Regions from separate parts of the Homo sapiens genome. Here region 1 is linked to region 2. Evidence: promoter capture Hi-C in 16 types of primary human blood cells and fetal thymus (Javierre and others, 2016). All regions are on one chromosome and are shown on one strand. Each heading gives the region's core, a stretch centred on a gene start or on the middle of the fragment in contact. The rest is flanking DNA. Distances are from core to core; before and after follow the strand shown.

What was found. Contacts are between HindIII fragments. The CHiCAGO score rates a contact against its expected background, and 5 or more counts as called.
Region 1: a contact is called between a fragment that was not itself captured here and the fragment with the promoter of BAG1 in region 2, in 1 of 17 cell types (neutrophils). The highest score is 5.4, in neutrophils.

The regions. Positions count from the first base shown.
Region 1 is chr9:32,994,520-32,999,196 of GRCh38, reverse strand. The region is part of intron 1 of APTX (aprataxin); the gene reads left to right. Among named protein-coding and RNA genes, the nearest start is that of APTX, 4.8 kb to the left of the region's middle. The HindIII fragment of the contact is 3,608 bases long and covers 793-4,400 here.
Region 2 is chr9:33,262,731-33,267,197 of GRCh38, reverse strand. It overlaps BAG1 (BAG cochaperone 1), which reads left to right and starts at 2,490. Exons shown (of 7, transcript NM_004323.6): 1 at 2,490-2,974; 2 at 4,368-4,467. The coding sequence starts at 2,524. It overlaps CHMP5 (charged multivesicular body protein 5), which reads right to left and starts at 2,149. Exons shown (of 8, transcript NM_016410.6): 1 at 2,051-2,149; 2 at 1,084-1,188. The coding sequence starts at 2,119. RefSeq lists enhancers at 1,942-2,181, 2,712-3,301, 3,432-3,481 and a silencer at 2,362-2,681. The HindIII fragment of the contact is 24,709 bases long and covers 1-4,467 here.

The DNA of each region.
Region 1 (4,677 bases), core at 1,347-3,846, 270 kb after region 2:
GATTATTACTGGATCTCTTTGCTGCTTTTGGAACTTGGTCATCCCTTTACTCCCTTCTTCTTTGCTTTACGTGTCAGTGCTCTCAGATGATTTATTCAACAAGTATTGATTGGGATACAGAGATGAACAAGACAGATAAATTGTTTTCTCTTAAGGAATTTACATTCTAGCTGTTCTCCATGTGCCTTTCTTACCAGTCATTTCTGCTATGGGTAGTCATTTTCCTCCTTCCCTAAAATGTTGGGTGTTTCTGTTGTTTGTGACTTTGGCATATAAACAATGAAAAACTGTTCTTTTTTTTTTTTTAGCTTGACCAATTTTTTTTTTATACTTTAAGTTCTGGGATACATGTGCAGAACGTGCATGTTTGTTACATAGGTGTATACTAAGTGCCATAGTGGTTTGCTGCACCCATCAACCTGTCATCTACATTAGGTATTTCTCCTAATGCTATCCCTCCCCTAGCCCCTCACCCCCTGACACGCCCCAGTGTGTGATGTTCCCCTCCCTCTGCCCATGTGTTCTCATTGTTCAACTCCCACTTATGAGTGAGAACATGTGGTGTTTGGTTTTCTGTTCCTGTGTTAGTTTGCTGAGAATGATGGTTTCCAGCTTCATCCATGTCCCTGCAAAGGACATGAACTCATTCTTTTTTATGGCTGTATAATATTCCATGGTATATATGTGCCACATTTTCTTTATCCAGTCTATCATTGATGGGCATTTGGGTTGGTTCCAACTCTTTGCTATTGTTAATAGTGCTGCAATAAACATACATGTGGATGTGAAGCTTGACCAGTTTTTATAAAATGATTATACCTATGTGACCACCATCCAGATTAGGTTACAGATACATAATATTACCAGCATTCAGAATGAAAACTGTTCTTTTCATTCTGTACACATTGCCTGAGTGAACCCATCAGCTGGCTTGGTTTTAACTACCTCCTACATGCCCCCAAATTGAAATTGTCAGCTTAGACCTCTCTGAGCTTTACCCTCACATCTGACTATCCTCCTGGACAGCTCTGCCTGCAAGTCCCACAGACACTTCAAATTCAGATGACTGAAACTGAACTCAGTGTCTTTCCTGGACTTAACTCTTATCACATTCATCACTAAGTCCTGATAGTTTTACCCCCTAAACATCTCTCAAATCTGTGCAGTCTTCTCCATCTCTACTGTTGTCCTTTTACCTGCAATATCATGGCCTTCTAACTGATTTCCCTGCTTCTAGGCCTGTTCCCCCATATCTTTTCTTCACATTACTCCCCTCCACCCCCAGATGGTCTTTGGAAACAAGTCTGTATCAAATTCCTGCTTAATCTTTAAAGATCTGTCCATGCATTCATCCATTCTTTTCTCTAATTCATTCAGCAAACATTCATTGTCTACTGGCTTGCAAAATCCATTGAAAGTTCTAAAGTTTGAGCTTCTCAGCCAGGGCTCTGCCTGTTCTGAACCCTGCCTGTATCTCCAGCCTCTTCTCTGCCTCATGCTTTAGGTTCCAGCAACACTGAATGGCATCTTCATGGGTACTGTGCTATTTCTTCTTTGTGTACTTGCCCTTGTTCTCTTTGCTTGGAATCTTCTCCCTGTTTCCTTTCTCCACCTCCTGCTCCTCACCTAATTAGGCTGCTCCTTTTCACCTAATTAACCCAGTTTATAAATGGGACTCAGTTATAAAGTTTAGGTCCACCTCCTCCAGGAAATTTTTTCCTGACACCTCCTTCCTCCCAATCTCGGTTGGGTACTCTAGCATTGTGCTTCCACCCTTTGCACAGAGCAATCATCATGTTTACCACATCTACTATTAACATAATTGTTTGTGTTTTTCTCCTCCACAAGATTTATTTTTTTTAGATGAGGTGTTGCTGTGTTGCCCAAGCTGGACTTGAACCCCTAGGCTCAAGCAATCCTTCCACCTCAGTCTCCCAAGTAGCAGGGACTACAGGTACGTGCCACCATGCCTGGCTAAGGCTGAGTTTTTTGAAGGCTGGGCTCATATATTATCTCTTTATTCCCAGTACTAGAATGGCACAAGATACACAGGAGTGTAGTAATTTTGACTGAACGATCAAATGAGTGAAGCCAAAAGTTATATGATGCAGTGGTTAAGAACCCATTCTTTGGAATTCAAATTGTAGTTCTGGCACATATTGGCTATGTGACTTGAACATGTTACTTATCTTCTCATCCTGAATTTTCTCTTCTCAGAATGGAGTTGTGAGTGTTAAAATGAGACCATGTAAGTAAGACATTTAGCATAGTGCCTAGCACATAGTATGCACTTGATAAAGGTGCTGAAAACCGGGGGATCCTGGAGTAAAGACTAGGCCTGGCCCAGGACAGTGATCTCCCGAAACCCCTCCTCATTGTTTTGTGAATGCGTAGGCAGTGATGCAGTCTGTTAGCAGGGAGATTATAATCTTGTTTGGAAAGTAGAATTACATCCACATTAAACAGTCAGAGAACTGTGAAGGTAGTTTGACCACATCCAATAATAAGATGTAGAGAAGAGAAGACAGCTCAATGAAGGCTTTAGGGAGGAGGTGAGGCTTGAAAGTTAAATAGGATTTGGGTTTTAGGAGAAAGGAATACCAGGAGACCATATTAAGAATGACTTAGGCCAGGTGTGGCTCCTACCTGTAATCCGTGCACTTTGGGAGGTCAAGACAGGAGGATTGCTTGAGGCCAGGAGTTTCAGACCAGTGTAGGCAACATAGTGAGAACCCCATCTCAAAATAAAATAAATTAGCAAGGCATGGTGGTGTGTGTCTGTAGTCCCAGCTACTCCAGAGGCTGAGGCTGGAGGACCACTTTAGCCCAAGGAAGTTGAGGCTGCAGTGAGCTGTGATGACGCCCTGCACCCAATCTGGGCAACAGAGTGAGACCCTGTCTCAGAAAAAAAAAAAAAAGAGCGATTTATTTGGGAGATGCTGTTCAGTATATTATACTTGAAGGGTATACATACAGGCATACCTCAGAGACGTGGGTTTGGTTCTAGACAACTGCAATAAAGTGAACATATGCATGTTTTGGTTTCTTAGTGCATATAAAAGTTATGTTTATACTATACTGTAGTCTGTTAAGTGTGCAATAGCATTATGGCTGAACAAACAATGTACACACCTTAATTAAAAGTACTTTGCTAAAAATTGCTAATAGTCACCTGAGCCTTCAGTGAGTTGTGATCTTTTTGCTGATGTAGGGGGGGTCTTGCCTTGACGTTGGTGGCTGCTGACTGATCAGGGTCATAGTTGCTGAAGGTTTGGATGTCTGTGGCAATTTCTTTTTTTTTTTTTTTTTGAGACGGAGACTCGCTCTGTCGCCCAGGCTGGAGTGCAGTGGCGCGATCTCGGTTCACTGCAAGCTCCGCCTCCCGGATTCACACCATTCTCCTGCCTCAGTCTCCAGAGTAGCTGGGACTACAGGTGCCCGCCACCACGCCCGGCTAATTTTTTTGTATTTTTAGTAGAGACTGGGTTTCACCGTGTTAGCCAGGATGGTCTCGATCTCCTGACCTCGTGATCCGCCCGCCTTGGCCTCCCAAAGTGCTGGGATTACAGGTGTGAGCCATAACACCCAGCCCTTTGTTGGCGTTTTGGTAATGTTCATTACATCTTCATCAGGAATAGATTTCATCTCAAGAGACCGTTTTCTTTGCACATCCATAAGAAGCAACTCCTCATCCATTAAAGTATGATCATGAGATTGCAGCATTTCAGTCACATCTTCAGGTTCTACTTATAATTTTAGTTCTCTTTATTTCTGCTATATTGGGAGTGACTTCCTCCATTGAAGTCTTGAACCCCTGAAAGTCATCCATAAGGGTTGGAATCAACTTTTTCCAAACTCCTGTTTATGTTAATATTTTGACCTCCTCCCATAAATTACAGATGTTCTTAAGGGCATCTAGAATGGTTGTATCCTTTTCAGAAGGTTTTCAATTTACTTTTTCCAGGTCCATCAGAAGAATCACAGTTGATAGCAGCTATACCCTTATGAAATGTATTTCTTAATTAATAACACTTGAAAGTCAGAATTACTCCTTGATCCATGGGCTGCAGAATGGATGTTGTTTTATCAAGCACGAAAACAATATTTATCTCCCTGTATAATATATCTCCATCAGGGATCTTGGGTGCATTGTCAATGAGCAGTAATATTTTGAAAGGAATCTTTTTTTTATGAGCAGTAGTTCTTAACAGAGATCTTAAAATATTCAGTCAGTCATGCTGTCGTCCAGGCTTTGTTGTTCCATTTATAGAGCACAGGCAGAGTGGACTGAGTATAATTCTTAAGGGCCTTAGGATTTCTGAAATGGTAAATGAGCGTTGGCTTCAGTTTAAAGTCTCCATCTGCATTAGTCCCTAACAAGACAGCCTGTCCTTGAAGCTTTGAAGTCAGGCATTGACTTCTCTCTACCTGTGAAAGTCCTAGATGGCATTTTCTTCCAGTAGCATCAAAGATCAAAGATCACTGATCACAGATCATTGTAACAGATATAATAATAACGAAAAAGTTTGAAATATTGTGAGAATTACTAAAATGTGACACAGAGACCTGAAGTGAGCACATGCTGTTGGAAAAATGGCACTGAAAGACTTGCTTGACACAGATTTGCCACAAACTGTCAATTTGTAAAAAATGCAATATCTTTCAAATGTAATAGAG
Region 2 (4,467 bases), core at 1,241-3,740:
GTAGATCATTTTATTTGTCTTCTCCAGTGAGGAAGGAAAAACAGGTATTATTACTTCACAGATGATCATAACTCATATTTACTGAGTACTACTTTATCCTAGACATAGTGGTACACAGGTCACATCAATTACCTCATTTAATCCTCATACTGTAAGGTGGGTATTATCTCTGTTTTACAGATGGGGAAAGAGAGGTTCAGTGATACCCAGGCTCACATGGTTAATAAGTTATGGATCTGGAAAAAACAAGGTAGTTCTATATCCACAGTCCATGTGCTTAAACACAGTATTTTATGTTTCTACCTAACAGGAGTGGAAAATAAGTGACTTTATCAAGGTCACAACTAGAAGGCAGTGACAGTGTATTAGAACACTGGTCCCAGATGCCTAGTTCAGTTTTTCCCAGCAGGCCACTCCTTAAGCAGTCTAATATACCAACCTAACCTGACCAGCTTAGCAAGTCATTGATCTTGAGCACAGCCTAGTCTTCCTCTCCAGATTACCACCTTCTCAGTATAATATGCTAATTCTCATGTACATGCTTTTAGACGTGTGACCAGCATCTCTTTCCACCAGATCAATCCCCAGCCTCCCTTCCATATTTGATTGCAAACTCTCCTCCCTAAAGGATACACCCTCACATGTTTTCTCCTTACCAGACTGTAAGCATCTCTTCTGTAGGGATGCTCACAGCCCCTGCACTAGGTCCTATTTCACTTATTTTTTGAGACGGAGTCTCACACTGTCACTTGGGCTAGAGTGCTATGGTGTGGTCTCTGCTCACTGCAACCTCCGCCTCCCAGGTTCAAGCGATTCTCCTGCCTCAGCCTCCTGAGTAGCTGGGATTACAGGCGCCTGCCACCATGCCCAGCTAAGTTTTTGTATTTTCAGTAGAGACAGGGTTTCGCTATGTTGGCCAGGCTAGTCTCAAATGCCTGACCTCGTGATCCACCCGCCTCAGCCTCCCAAAGTGCTGGGATTACATGCATGAGCCACTGCGCCCAGCCGAACTAGGCCCTATTTCTATAGGTGCTAAAACTAGGCTCTGCCAGCACCTTGTGCAGCAGTTGCTGCCCACCTTACCTTTGCAGGACCCTCTCTCATCTTCTTGATCTGATCCTTATACTTCACTAGCTCAGCATCCAATCGAGAAATCTTCTTGTCAATGGATTCTGCTCTACTGTCCACCTTAGGGGAAAATATCAAATGCACTGGTAGTTACTGCAATACACTTATTCCAGAAGGGGCAGGTAGAGAGGAAGGAATACAGAGGAAGAAAAGAGGAGCTTAAGGGGAAGGGTGAAAAACAGTGGTTCACAAAGAAGGGTATTCCCAACCAGAAACCCTGGGCTTTATAAATTATTCTCTTACCCCCCGCCACACTGCCCCGATTCTGATATACCAGGTAGCCTTCAAGTGGGTTGGGGCAGAAAATAATTTGAGAATCACTGAGTTGAGTTGGAATTTCCCTAGAATCAGAGACTAGCCAGGCTGAGAGTTCCTCCAAGAGGCACATGAAATGGGCCAGTGCCAAGTGAAACCAGCTGATTGTAGATCTAATGCCATTCCCTAAATCGGGGATGGTGGCTTAATCTGAGGGGCTAGGGTTCTGAGTTTTGTGTTACTGAGATCCAGGACGAAGGCACAGATATGTTGACCTAGGATATCAAGCTGAGTCCTGATGTGGACTGGGGATGACAGATGGAAGAAGGGTAAGGGATCAGGCAGGATGAGGTGGGAAGGGTGTATGGGCCTAGGGCTGGGTGAGGTGAGAGGATCAAGGCGAGAGCGAGTGGACGGGCAATGGGCATCAAAACGGGTTGGGTGCTGGCAGGGCAAGGCAGTGATGGGGTTAGGGGTTCCCTGGTTTGTGGCGTTAGGAATGACTTGGGTAACAGGGATGAAGGGGAGAAGGTGAGATAGAGAGGGACGACGTGTAAGGGGCCCAGGACCCGAAATGAAGTGGAAGAATATGGGCCCGGGGCTGGGGGTGGGCGGGGTCGGGTGTGTCAGAGGTCCTGAGCCTACTTATGCATGATCAAATGCCCACCGTGCCAATGCAGTCAGTCAGGCTGGGCGGCGGAGCCTTGGGTTTCGCTTTCCCGAAGAGTCGGTTCATCTTGAGCAGCCGCGAAGAAACCCAAACACTAGAGCAAAACCAGAAACGGAAGCAGAGTCACTCCCGCCTCGACTTCCGGCCCCTCCGTGCGCAAGCGCAATATGCCTCCTGGCGTTTCCCGATTCTTTTTCCGGATTTTCAGCCGGGTCTTCCGGGGATGGAGAGCAAAAGGACTTGGTGCTCTCGGAGAGAGCCTGCAGGGGGCGGGGTGTTGGTAGAAGGAGTGGGAGGGGTTTTACTGTAGCAAGGCGGGGCCTCAGTTGAGTGGGTGGGGCCTGGAGGCAACTAACGCGGCATAGGGCGAGGGCGGGGCCGGCAGGCCGGGGCGGGGCTGGGAAGTAGTCGGGCGGGGTTGTGAGACGCCGCGCTCAGCTTCCATCGCTGGGCGGTCAACAAGTGCGGGCCTGGCTCAGCGCGGGGGGGCGCGGAGACCGCGAGGCGACCGGGAGCGGCTGGGTTCCCGGCTGCGCGCCCTTCGGCCAGGCCGGGAGCCGCGCCAGTCGGAGCCCCCGGCCCAGCGTGGTCCGCCTCCCTCTGGGCGTCCACCTGCCCGGAGTACTGCCAGCGGGCATGACCGACCCACCAGGGGCGCCGCCGCCGGCGCTCGCAGGCCGCGGATGAAGAAGAAAACCCGGCGCCGCTCGACCCGGAGCGAGGAGTTGACCCGGAGCGAGGAGTTGACCCTGAGTGAGGAAGCGACCTGGAGTGAAGAGGCGACCCAGAGTGAGGAGGCGACCCAGGGCGAAGAGATGAATCGGAGCCAGGAGGTGACCCGGGACGAGGAGTCGACCCGGAGCGAGGAGGTGACCAGGGAGGAAATGGCGGCAGCTGGGCTCACCGTGACTGTCACCCACAGTGAGTGTCGGGCGCCAGGTGGGCTCCATGCAGGTCCCGAAAGCCCGGCGGGGTCTGTGGGTTTAGTCACGTGTCCTCCAGAAGCGTGTGACCTTGCGCTTGTCCTGGCGTCCGGAAGCGTGGGTTATTGGTTGTGTCCGTGGAACTGTCTTTTGTCCCGGGCTTGTGTCTGTACACTTTTCCATGTGGCCGGTGTATTTTGTCTCTGGTCATTTGTGCGATCCTGGGTGTTTGAGCTTCTCCGTGCTTTACGTCGTGGGCCTGGTTGTGTTTGTGTGCCCGCGCAGTTATTGTGCCCTTTGTGTCAGGCATATATTGGGCCATGTGGTCTACGACTGCTCCGTGTGTGATAAGTCAGAACTTCGTGCATGCCGGGGTGCTCCTCGTGTGCTGAGTGCCTTCTCCGTGTGCGCCGCTTGAGTTGGCCGTGGGTCCAAGCGTTGTACTCTGGGCACCCTTTGGGTCTGCCTACTGTTGGAGTTGACACACCACCAAATGAAGTCAGTACACCGGAGAGCTGAGTCCATGAGGTTTCTCTAGAACCAGCTAGGGGAGGCCCAAGGGTCTGGGAATCTGGAGACCTGGATTCTAGATCCTGCGGTTTTGAGTGACCTTGGGATGGACGGCTTCTTCTAAGAATCCGGTTTCTCCTCTGTGAAGTAGATTTGGTAACCCTGGCTCCTGCTGACCTCACGGAGCTGTTGGGGGAACCAAACCTTGGTGTAATGTACTGTACACAGGCTCCCTCCTTGCTGTCCGCATCCCTGGAAAAGAATTGGCGTCTCTTCTTCAGAAAGAAAGGCTCTGCTGTTCGTATGCATTTGTCTGTTTACTTAGCACAAATCATGGATGCACTCAAGTGTGTTCAGTGGGAGAGACTTGGAGGAAAACAGTCACTTGCCCATTACAGCAAGCGAGACGAGACCAATACAATACAGGGTACAGGGCAGTCAAGCCACAGGAAGCAGATGGCTTGTGATGAAAAAGGTGGGCTTGGGAATCAGCTAGATCTGATATCAACTTCTGATTCCAACAGTTGAGTCTCCATAGGCAGTCCTTAACTTGCCTGAAGTCACAGTTTGCTCATCTGTGAAATAAGAAGTAATAGGTAGATCTACTTCGTGGGGTTTATCTGAGGATTAAATTAGATTATGCATGAAATGCTTAAAATGTTAGCAGATATCATTCATATTGTTAGTTATTATAATAGAGGAAACAGAGATACTTGAGGAGGTCACCAGAGGAAAGCTGGGTGGCATGGGGGCAGGCTCTGTGGAGTAGGTGGCATATGAGCTGGGCCTTGAAGGCTGGGTAAATAAATGTGATAAAGTGTCATCCTATATTGGTGTATGTGAAAGAATCATATTCGTCAAATGCTTTTCTTTCTCCCCAGGCAATGAGAAGCACGACCTTCATGTTACCTCCCAGCAGGGCAGCAGTGAACCAGTTGTCCAAGACCTGGCCCAGGTTGTTGAAGAGGTCATAGGGGTTCC